Linked DNA regions of Homo sapiens: region 1 is linked to region 2. Evidence: promoter capture Hi-C in human tissues and cell types (Jung and others, 2019). All regions are on one chromosome and are shown on one strand. The core of a region is centred on a gene start or on the middle of the fragment in contact, and the rest is flanking DNA. Distances in the headings are between cores, read along the strand shown.

Evidence for each region. Contacts are between HindIII fragments. The study calls those that stand out against the background at their distance.
Region 1: a fragment that was not itself captured here is called in contact with the fragment with the promoter of CDH19 in region 2 in 2 of the 25 tissues and cell types used here (hippocampus and pancreas).

Annotation. Positions count from the first base shown.
Region 1 is chr18:66,561,367-66,567,611 of GRCh38, reverse strand. The region is part of intron 3 of CDH19 (cadherin 19); the gene reads left to right. Among named protein-coding and RNA genes, the nearest start is that of CDH19, 40 kb to the left of the region's middle. The HindIII fragment of the contact is 4,962 bases long and covers 1-3,944 here.
Region 2 is chr18:66,599,177-66,606,009 of GRCh38, reverse strand. CDH19 (cadherin 19) reads left to right here and starts at 1,920. Exons shown (of 12, transcript NM_021153.4): 1 at 1,920-2,056. The HindIII fragment of the contact is 13,282 bases long and covers 1-6,833 here.

The sequences.
Region 1 (6,245 bases), core at 214-2,713, 38 kb after region 2:
ATTCCAAAAATACATATTTCATCATATAATTTTCTGATTCTTGATTTTTAACATTCCAGGTAGGAATTTAAAGATGTATTTCTACATTGTTTGGAACATAGGTCTTTAAATACAGCAGAAACAAATTTGCCTGTGTAATATATATCAAGACAAATTATTATGAGATGTAAATAGCACTTTAAATTACTCTATTTTGGTAGGTAGGCAAAGAAACAGTTCACCTTCCTCATCCCTCCCTCTCCTCCTCCCCCTTCTCCACCTTCTACTCCTTTCCCTTACTGCCCTCCCCTCTGTCTCCTTATTCCCTCTCTTCCTCCTTCCTCCCTCTGCTTCTTGCTTTTCTTCCTCTGCCACTGCTTCTTCTTCTTCTTGCATATATTATGATGTAACATGCTAGGAATCTTCCTTTGAAACTATAGATAAAATTGTAAAGGAGATAAAGGAGTTACCTGCTAATATGAAACACATTTTAGTTATATACAAATAAGAAATAGTTATTTTAATTAAAGGAGGTAATATATGATCATGTATAGTATAAAAGTGTTATGTATGGGTGAGGTATGATGATTATTAATTGTCTGGAGGAAACGGGACATTTTAGGAGGTGATATTTGAGGTGAATTATACAAAGAGGCCATCCATACCACATTCTAGGAAAAAAGAATCCATAGCAGAGTGCTCAGGGCTGTATACATCAATATGGAAGTCATCAACATATAACACGTATGTCAGGCATGGCAATGAATGAGATCCCTTTGGCAGAGAACGTAGCTGGAGAAGAGAAAAGCATCCAGGCTGACTTGACTGTTAAGCAAAAAGCAGTCGGCTGGCAAATTAGAATGAGTGGGATTGGCAAGCGTTGTAGGAAGAAGGGAAAAATATGAGAAAAGATGTTCCAAAAGAAGAAATCCCTCAACCGTGTGTAATGCTGCTGTGAGGCTAAGATTAAGACAGAGTGGTGACTTTTGATTTGGTAAGTTGAAGACCCCTGGTTTTTTGATAAGTACAACAGTTTAATTTGTGCTATTACAGCACACTGAAGACTATTGTATGGCATAAAAGGAAGAATAAGAGGAAGTAATAATGATTTAAGCCAAGTCTAAAAGGTGTTACGCCACAGGGAGAAAATGAAATGTGAGATGCTAGGTAGAAAAAGATGAAGGTCAAGAGGACTTTTTGCTTGTTTATGACTATTCAATTGTTTTTTAAGAAAGGAAATTGAACAGCACTGTTATATACTATGGGGAATGATTCCAGAGAATAATATTATTTGAAGCAAAGTAAAAGGACATAACTTCTAAAACACTGTTCTTGAAAAAAAAAAAAAAAAAGAAAGGGTCATGGAATCCATTGTACTTATAGAAGGGACAGATTATATGTTAACATATTTGTTCATAACCAATCAGTTAATAAACGTTTCTATTTTGTCAGTGAAGCATAATGCGAAGGCAGTAATTGAGAGAGCATGGGTAAAATTTTAGAGAAGAGGAGGTACAATACTGCCATTTTACAGAGTTGGGTAGTGAACCCATGAGAGAATTATTGGTATCATGGTATCAGTGCAGCCCCACTGTAGATGTTCAGAGAGATTGCAAAAGATGGTTTGGTCTGTGCAATATCTAGCAAGCACAAATCTCTTTGTGCATTGCAATTTGAGATAGAGGTACAAATTATCTTTTCAATTTGTGTAATCAATACATACTGTGTGAGTGCCAGTTAGGGTCCAGGCTTTGTATGAAATCATGCAAGAACTAATGAGCACTTTGTGTAACCTTTCCATGAGAGGGAGAGGCCAGCTGAGTGATGGTCAGTTGCTATTAGAAGTGTTATATAATATGGAAATAGGGGAATATTTCTATTGCTTTGCCAAACTTCTAGCAACGGTTTCCTTCTGAAGCATTCCTGCATTTGTGTTGACTGTGAAGTAAATAAATCAATTAATAAAATTATATGTGATTTATCTTTTTTCCTCAATCTCAGTATTAAATTAATGAATACTGCGGGTTTTATTACCTAAATATAACTTCAATTCTTCATTATCTTTCTATATCCACGGCCATTTAAGTTTTTGAATATTGACCTTACTTCCAAATTTCCTAGCCAGCTACTTTATTCTTCAAAAACAACTATTGCAAACATTTTGCTGTTTCTTTTTCTTACATATATTTCTGTTGTATTGAAGTGAACTGCCTATTATTATATTTGAATCTGCACTTGAACTCAGAATTTGGTTTGAATTACTGAAGGGAATCCATATTTCATTATGTCATGAGATAAAATCAAGAAAATTATTAACTTGTTGCTTATTAAACACACATTTCTTTACAAGTAATGATGGGCTTTTACTGACTGCATTTATGTTTGAAATGAAATTAACTTCAAACTAGAACTTTCAAGTAGAGTTGAGATAAAACATTATGCTTTCCCAATTGTCACTTTGGATTTGCAAAGTTACTATTTTTCTGCCATCCAAAAATATAAGATTTATTAGACCACAAGTCATAGAGTGACTGAGATTTGGAAGGATTGAATAAATAAATGAGTGAGTACATGGGTGGACAAAAAAATGCTAAATAAGTGATTAGAATAGTTTAGGATATAAATAGAAGATTTCGGGAGATGTGAAATTCATGGAAATCATTCTGAAATTGTATCTGAATAGCCAGCCTATCAAATATGTAATCTTCCATTTCAGTAATATTTGCTAGTTTTACCTAAAACCTTATAATGTCAAAAAAAAAAAAAAGAAGGGGCATTTAAAATACGTGTAGTATACTACTTAATAAGCAATTAAACCAAAGCAGAGTCGGGTAACTTATCTTCTGCAAATCAGCACAAAATCCTGCTAAAAGTGAAACATGCTTTAGCCAGTCACATTACGTGGAAAACAACCATAATAAATAGATATTGATATTGTACACATTATGAATGATCATTAGTGTTAATAGACTTTGTTTATATGTCTGTGTATGTGCAAATGCAAAAGGAAAATTTAAAATCTGACTTCCTTAAAATTTAGTTTCACATATTTCTGCCTAATAAAAGCAAGGAGAATATATTGTCTAGTAAAAAGACTATCCACTCTCTTTGGAGCTTTTCCAAATAAATATCCTCCACCAAATTTTTCATATCTGTAGTCACTGAGGGCATCATTTTTAATATTATCAAGTGTCCAACATTCCTTCCACTTGCAATAACCATTTCCTTTTATTTTCAAAACCAGATGCTTTTGAAAATGAATGGGGATAACTAGTGAGTAAGACTCTGTTTACCTTACTATTTAAGGAAGCTTATTTTGGCATTTCAGATTTTAAATTCAAATATAATATGTTATAATGATCTCTGTAATTATTATGCAATATTTTAAGTTGCATTTTTTGGAAAAGCATATAGAAAATTTAATATTCTTCATCAACAATATGGTACAATATGTCATAAAGGAGAGCTTTTATAGAAATATTAAATTCACCTTAAGCTTTGTATGGAAAATCTATACAAATTTAATTTCAGTTAATACTCAGGAAAATAAAAAATCATGAATTTTCAAAATTTATCACATTTGTGAATTAGATTCTATAAATCTCTTGCCTTTGGGAACATGAGTTGAACATGACTGAGACTGGGATGAATTTCTCTTCTTATTCTTCTAAATATAATATTGTTTGATTTATTAAACACAGTCTAATTTGTTTTACTTAAATTCCATTATCTCAGATTATAAAAAGTAGAGGTGTCAAAAATGCAGCACAAAAATAATAAAAATGACCTAGTTTTTAGGTGACTATGGACAGAAAAATAAAAAATTTGAAGAACACTTTGCCCAGTTAAGATGACAAGTGAGAAAATATTATCTGTTTCCTGAGTTTCACTTCGAGACTTTAGGTTGTAGAGTAATTGCAGCTCAAGTATAAATGCAGCAAGAATGGGTCAGTCAGTACTGGTAGAAAAATAATTATCCTTGTACTAATAAAATAAGTTCCCAATGTGAAGGAGTGAGCAGATATACCTATACAACTCTTATGTCATGTATTTGATCATTTGATCACCTCATTCATCTTAATCCTGTTTTATTGTTGCAGAAATTACATATGCAGAGTGTGGATCACTATAATATTATTTGATCTGTATAACATTGAAGTTGACAATTATACAACCCAACATCTCAATAAATTTGTTTCAGATTAATCAAAGTATACTTGTACTAAAACTGGATGTAAAAATAGCTTTTCCATTAAATTTATATCTACATTGTAAGAAAAGAACAGTTAATCTCCTTACTATTGAATTCAAAATGAATAAAATATAACATTCTAAAGTAAATGTCATTTTGAAATCTACAGCTGGAATCTTGGCATTCAAACACTATAGCATACTGTGGCACCTGTACTTTAGTATTCCATAATAAATGTAAGCTTTAATTATAAAATGCCCTCGCCACAGGTTGCTAATTTCTCTATTGCTTACATAATATCTAAATTAGTCTGCATAGGAAAATTTTTCACTTTTTATGATTTTTTGTTTATATGCTTCCCATAATCACCAGTGGATAAAGCATTCTATGTGACACAGGAAAGAACATCATTTAATAAAGTTGTAAGCCATGTTAAACATCTGCATGAGAATAGTTTCATCCTCTGCATAACTCCTGGTTAATAATAAAATTTACATAACTCAACAGAGACAGAGTTACACTACCTTTACCTCAGGTTTTACTCAGTGATGGCAGAATACATCTGATGTTTGGATAAATTATTATTGATGCTTTCATTAATGCTCTCAATCTTTAAAATTTCTATGTAGTTTTATACAGGTTAGCACCTTTAAACATTACAAGAATGCTTCATTTCACACACACAACAAATATATTATCTTCTGTTAAGATACTATTATCACACTAAAATTTTCTGTCATAAAAATGAAAAATATATCAGTAAATGCAATTTCCAGAGATGACCAAACTAACGTTTTCCTTTCAAGCACGTGGTACAAGTGTACATCCTGTGTCACCTATGTCAGGGGTTCCCAACAACCAGGCCACAGACTGGTGCTTGTCTGTGGCCTCTTAGGAACCGGGCTGCACAGCAGGAGGTGAGCAGCAGGCAAAAGAGCTAAGCCTCATTTGTATTTACAGCCGCTCCTCATGGTTTGCATTACCACCTGAGCTCCGCCTCCTGTCAGATCAGTGGCGGGATTAGATTTTCATAGGATTGCAAACCCTATTGTGAACTGCACATGTGAGGAATCTAGGTTGCATGTTCCTTATGAAAATCTAATGCTTAATAATCTGTCACTGTCTCCCATCACTGCCAGGTGGGACTATCTAGTTGCAGGAAACCAAGCTCAGGGCTCCCACTGATTCCTCATTATGGTGAGTTGTGTAGTTATTTTATTATATATTACAATGTAGTAATAGTAGAAATAAAGTGCACAATAACTGTAATGCGCTTTAATCATCCCCAGACCATCCCCATGCCCACTCCCCACCCTGACCATGGAAAAATTGTCTTCCACGAAACTGGTCCCTGGTGCCAAAGAAGTTAAGGACCACTGACCTATGTTACAATAAGTTTCTGCAAAGAATGTGATTGATAAAATAAGCAAAGTCAAATATTGTGTTGAACTTATTTTTATAAAGACCTTTTGCTATGAAAAGTTGCCAAGATTTGGAAACTAGCTAGAAAGACATAATTAATATTTTAAATTTGCAATTATGAAAAGTCTCTCCAGAGTAATGCAAACAATGTCAACTGTCCACACAATAATGGAACCCAAGATTACATTAGTAATTATATTTGTATGTTTATTATCAGAATAAGTGAACTGATAAGCTACTCTAATTAAAGTATGATTCTAAGAGAATTTTTTTTTCTAAGCACACTTTTGTTCACTTAGAATGGATACAAACTACAAGTCATTTTGATTCTTTGCATTTCCAAATACCACTGGCACCTCTGATCCAGCCACAGTGACCCCACTCAGGTATGCATGCTGAACTTTGGACCCTTCGGTCCCCCAAAAAGCATTTTTTCACTCTCTGTTTACATTCCTTGCTAATTTGATTTCAAGGATCTCATTAATTTAAACTTTTCAGAGTTCCCATCATTTGGTAGTTACCCAATTCTGCTTACTGGATGGTGTATTGCAGGGAATAATAGGACTTAAGGCTGTGGCAATTCAATATACACAACTCGTGCTACGTTATTTTCATTTTGTGTGCTATCCTGGTGGCCACTTTATATTGTCAC
Region 2 (6,833 bases), core at 671-3,170:
CTCGGGAGGCTGAGGCAGGAGAATGGCGTGAACCCGGGAGGTGGAGCTTGCAGTGAGCCGAGATTGCGCCACTGCACTCCAGCCTGGGCGACAGAGAGAGATTCCATCTCAAAAAAAAAAAAAAAAAAAAAGAAGTAATCACTAAGCTTATCTGATGACCAGTCCCCTAAGTACTTCCAAGTCTTCATTCTTGGTTGTGGCATAGCGGATGAATCTTGCTGGATCCTTGGCTATCGGCTGTTCATCTTATATCCTCTTCCAGAAAGGGCATGCATTTCTTAAGCAATTTACAGCAACTAGTTCCTGTACGTGTTTGATAATAGATTATCTATTTAATAAAATCAGTTTGCTGTTAATGATATTCTACATAAAACATGTAGTTTCACACTGTACCTTCTTTAGAAAATTTAATCCTGTCTCACTGTGGTTTCTATAGTTGCCATTGCTCTTTATTGGTACTGTAATAATCAGGGCAGCAAATTGTGACCCACCTTTGCTCCCTTAGGCTCTAAAATAAGCCTTTGGGACATCATGTTTACAGGTACACTGAGGCTCTAAACTGTGGTTTCAATCCTAAGTGCAACTGGATATTTTATAAACATCAAGATATAAATTGGCATCTCATAAAATGTTAGATTCTTACAGAAATCCTAGACTAGGTCATAGACAGAACAGTGAATTATGTAAATAAATATTTTAAACAGGTATCTCCACCTTTTTTGATACTGTAAAAAATATGAAGGGGGAAATGTATAAGAATACTTCAGAGGTTCTTTGTAAAATTTATTTTTTCCCTATTTACTAACATCTTGAAACACTTAGAAGTGTTTTTTTCTAGCTGAATGCTTTTTTCTACCTGAAAAAATAAAATATTTCCACATTATACTGTTCCTGCTATCCACAGATCTATTCTCCCAGGTTCATCTCTTCAAGATTTGTTCATAAATTATTGATTCCTCCTAATATTCACAACCTCATAGGATGTGCATTTGTGCGTGTGTGTGCATATGTATGTGTGTGCACATGTATGTGTATGCATGTGTGCACATGTGCATGTGTGTATATGTGTGTGCTTGAGTGTCCTACTTTACTGCCCATATAGCTTTTGCCATTTCTTTCCTCAAAAGCTAAGAGGATAGTGACCAAAATATCTATCAGAATTAACAGGATGCTTGAATAATCCTGCCCCACATAGACTTTCTTATTATATAGGTATAATTTAAGAAACTTTTAATATTTTAATGTTTCTCTAGTTTGGTTCAAAAATGGTTTTTAAGTAAATAACAGCTTGAGTAAACAGCATAGAAAATACATATGTATTTTATGTTAAATAATAATAGCTTATATCAAAATCTAATTATAACCATGAATAAAATAAAAGATTTTACATAATAATAAACCAAGGAAAAGAAAAGGACTTATTAAAGTTTAGACATTTCTCTCTCATTATGTCTTTACTTGATTTCTGAGGAGAAATGACCGAATTAAGAAACAGCCATGAGGCATAGACACACAGTGGAAAATCATTTCTCTTTTCAGTAAGTTTTGGGTCTGCTTTAAATTGATCATTTGTTTCATCAGCTAATCCCCAAACAGAGGGCACGTCCGCTCTACTTGCAAAATTCTTGTATGTAAGTTGAATTCTCCCTTTATCAACTCAGGCCAATAAGTACTTTATTTTGTTTTTGCTTGTTGTTAGGGGAAAAAAAAAAAAAACAAAGATAATCAGCTCATACTACTTGCGTAGCTGTCTGCATTTTAATTCCAGACTATGAACGAGCGTCAGAGTGCCCTTATGATATTTTGCACAAAAGGCTCAGTGTTTATGACTCTACTCAGAGAACCCAAAATAGCATTGAGTAAGCAGTGACATACTGACAGTGTTGTGGTACTAAAAGCACAAGCGTCTGTAACTCTGGGCAATGGGGCACATCGAGAGTTTGCTGAGAAGACTGTGAAGCAAAAAGAAGAAAGTTTTTCCTACTCTTCCTTATGTGTCCAACACGAAGTTTGCTGTTCAGTTTTCACAGAACTTCTAGAAGTTGAAGTTACAAAGGTAAGACTGTGATAATCAGGCATATTATAAACTACATGCATCATCTTTAATGAGTCAATAGGTCAAAAAGTACATGACAAAATGTTGCTAGGAAAATATTCTAAAAATATTAAGGAAAATATTTACATAGGAAATAAGGAAAATATTCTAAAAATTTTAAAACCATGATGTGTACTTGTACTGAACTTTCTCAAAACACGTATTTGTGAGAACAGTTCTCCATCTCTGTAATACAGATTGTTGGTGTTGGGGGGAAGTTACACCTATGTTAGGATATTTAAAACTTCTCAAGTTTCTTAGAATAAATGAATCAACCTTTCTTTGCATGTCTTTCTTTGCACTTTTTTCTTTGTTCAGGGTTTTATTTTTTATTTATCATGTATTTACCATGTATATCAGGTAATATGAACAATAGAGTTGTCATCATTAAGTATATGAGAAAAAATATATACAGAATAAATATGAAAAATTTTAAGTATATTATAATTCCAAAAAAATTAAAATATTAGCATTGCTATGAATAAAAACACATATATGCCTAAAATTGTACAGGCATATTAATTTACCTATATGTATTATAACATTTATACATAACACAAAAGGTAATTTCTCAAATATGAAAGTATAAATTAAGAAAAGTATAAATTAGGAAAATGCATACTGTAAAAGACATTTTATATTGTTTCAATTCTAATTTGGTACATGCAATTTTAATTGAATAACTAATTATAATAAAATATTTCAAAATAAGTTTACCAAAGGGATTTAATAAATCTATTAAATATAAAAACATAAAATATTTAGCAACAAAAAATACCTAAATAGAGTGGCAAAGGTTTTCTTTAGATTATGTCAATTTATATTTTAGCTCTATTAATTCATTTGTTGAATTAATATATCTGTAAGAAAGACATTATTTAGATAAAATATTTGAAAATTTAGTAATATATATTTATGTTTTAGATGTAGTTACAATATTAAGTAAAATTATATGCATTAATATATTCTTTTTTCAAATTCTTAATATTGTAATTATCAGCAGTATGCCTACTTACTATAATTTTTGATTTCAAAGAATTTAAATTTCAATGTAATGTGAACATTTATATTGACCAAATAAAATAACTAACAATTTATTTTTAAAAGGAATAAGCATTTCATTATTGTCTGCAATTATTCAAAATTTTTAAACAATCAATTTATGTCATTTAGAAACCACCAGATCTCCTTTCCTTTACATATGTTTTCCACTTTACCAAGCCTTTATAACAGTGAACGAAATGCTCATATCATTATATAAATATCTGATTTTTACAGTCTTACACATTAGTAAATTCTTTACTTAGGCTCCAGTGAAATATTTATAATTTTAGGCACACACAGACACATCTGCATATATCGAAAAGCATATGTCTTCTACTTATATTTTTTGTTTTGTTTTGTTTTTCACTTAGGAATGTTTGTAAGGTACATTTCCTCAAGAAACATAAAAAAATTTTTGATTAAATTATCATAAATTGAAGATGCTTTAAAATGATGTGCACAGATGCCTCCTATGCATTATTAAGAAACCAGATCCATCTTTCAGGAATTTCTCCTAATACAGCTACATATAATCTGATACATATCATCTATAACTAAATATCAACTGATCATTTTTGCCACTCATGATCTTAGCATGTACTCTTAAATATATGTTATGTTTAAAACATTACATAGCAGTATTCAGCATGTTAGTGAGTAGTAATGCATTAGGAATAAATGTGTTAAACTGTTTAAAAGGAGATATTGATCTTTCTATATACCTTCTTTACATGAGAATTTATTGCTCCTAACCAAGTGTTTGAGAACCATGCTGGTGAATAAGAAAAATTTGTTGTCACGACGATTTCCTTTAACATCGATGATCTTCTATCACCTGTATCTTTGCTTTGGTGAAACAGATTGAAGTTGAAACACAACTAAGTATGGAACGTAATAATAATCCCACAGGAATCCTTTCTATCAATGGTGAAGACAGCCCCTGATTGACAAAATGAGTGTCTTTGCAAAAGTGACTAGAAAGATGTTTGCCACTTTAAAATCAAATCAAAACAAAACAAGATAAACTGTACCCTTACAGCGTTTTTTTTTACCCACTCTCACCACCTTTCAATTGAGAGAACACAGCTAAATGCTCTAAAGCCTGTCAAAATGTGTAACAGATCAATTTCCTTTTCAAATGATGCCTGCCCTCTTGAATATGCTGATATGATTCGTTAAGAGAATGCTTGTCTGAATTTAAAACATACTCTAGAATACATACCTTTGTCAAAATGTGTCACATTAATTACTCAATAATTATATTCAGAATCATCCAAGTATGTCTTAAGATTAAAGCAAAACATCATTTTTAAAAATCCTGCCTTGGCACAACACGTGAAATTTGAAATGTTATTTTAGGACAGTGGTTTCTCAACATACCAGAGCAGTAGATCCAGTTTAGCTGTTTTTTAATTCTAAGAAGTTTCATGATAAATGAAATTTGCAAATTTGCAAGATACTGTATTAAAGTGGGGATAATTTTGGCACATCAGTCATGTCTTAAAATAACCTAGGCAGTTTTATCTGTGTGCAAAATTTAGAAATGTCATTCCTGTGGAAATGAGCAAATCATAAATACATCACAGAAAAGAAGTCGCTATTTTTTTGACTTTAAGTTGTTTTATAGTTAAATTGTGTCAGAGAGTTTGCCATCTATTTTATTCCTAAAAAGGCCTGGTGGAGAATATATGACTTTCCTTGATGTAGAGATAATACTACTAAACATAAAGATAAACATAAAATGTAACTAGAATAATAATAAAGGCAAAGAGAAAAGGTATAGATGCATCTCTGAATTTTCAAGAGAGTAGTGTCATTTGTCACTAAGCAAATACTTCTTGACAGTGCTTGAAATTGCTCTTGAACTGGTAAAGCAAAATGTAACTCTTCCCCCATAGTATTTGATGAGAAATAAATGGGCTATAATGTCACTCGTCAGGTGGATATAATTCCCCTTCTTCTAAATAACACTTTTCTTTGGGAGACTATGTAAGACATTGGTTTATTTTTGATTATTTTCTCTCTTTTATCGAATGCTTATAGAATAACCCAACCCTGTAGGCATATGAGGATTTGACTCCAAATTTATTGGTTAATAATAAATAAGCGTATTGATGTTTTCACACACATATGTGTACCTGGCTACACATTTCTCTATTAACAGATAATTTTGAATGCATGTGTATACTCCTTTGATAATTTCAAGACCATGTGAATTATTTATAAAACTTTCATGTCATTTTATACAATATGGATTTAATAAAACCACTTACATGAAATTTAATTTAAAGTATTTTTAAAGATACAAAGCGATGTTGTCATTTTGTGTACGTGTGTGTGTATTGCATTTTTAAACCAGTGTTTAAAACATACAATTCTTAACTCACAAATATGATTTTTATGAGATTATAATCATGTCATTGAGATTTTTTTGTGCATAAAAAAGGAAAAAGCAATAGACTTTTAAGAGAGTGAGTTAAATATTAAAAATCTCAGCAAGACATTACTTAACTGACCCTTAAATATTATGAAACAAAACATTAGAACTTTAGGGTTGCCAGATTTTTAAAAAATAAAGTAAGGAATTATTTTATATAAAACATCATCCCTTTCAACAGCATATTCTAGCTGTCTGTATACTTATTGACAATTTGGTGCAGGTTCAGAGTCCACATAATTTAAAATTTTAGGAATAAAGTCACATTTATTTATTCAATAATCCCAGTCACGCATTTAGATTATACTAAATGCTGTTACATTTAAGTACTAAAAGAAAGTATGTTTATTCTATCTGGCACAAATTTCAAAGGATTTACATACTTAAGATATCCTATCTATCTTTATTTTTAAATCCAGCTTGTAACATGAATTAACTATATTCACGACTGTTTCATAAACGTTCATGACTGTTTTCCTTCCTTAAGTTGATACATATTTTTAACCCATTACATACAACCCTTGGACGTATACTTTACTGTCTTCTGTGTTTAAAAAACTCAAAACACTTCTGTTTTGTTTTATACCATACACATTTTTGTTTATAATTAAGGTGATATTCTTGAATTTCTCATTTTGGGAATTAAAAAGTAGAAATTTATTTATCCTATATTCATGCCATTAATGTTAAAACAATTTATTAATCTGTTTATAGGATGTTTTCAATATTTATTTTTTATTGAAAATTGACAATTTATAATTGAATAAATTTATGAGACATAAACTGATGTTAGAATTCATGAAAACAATGTGGAATGATTAAATCAGGCTAGTTAATATATCCATCACCTCAAATATTTAACATTTTTTGTGGTGAGAACATTTAAACTTTGCTCTCTTAGGAATTTTGAAATGTAGAATACTCTACTATTAACTGTATTCGCCACACTGTCTAATAGAACCCCTTCTGAAACGTGAAACATACTCCTCCTGTCTGAGATTTGACCTTCATTTCCTCATCTGCCCCACCCCACCAGCCTCTGTAAATACCAGTCTACTTTATGCCTCTATGAGTTCCATTGTTTTAGATTCCACATAAAGATGACAAAATGTGATATTTCTCTTTCCGTGCTGGCTGAATATTACTTAGTCATTCTTCATACACAGCTCATAGCAGACAATTAAAAAAAATCCCCAAAATATGCAATAATAGCATTAAACATTGTGCTAACCTAGTCCATCTGGCACCACGTTTTAT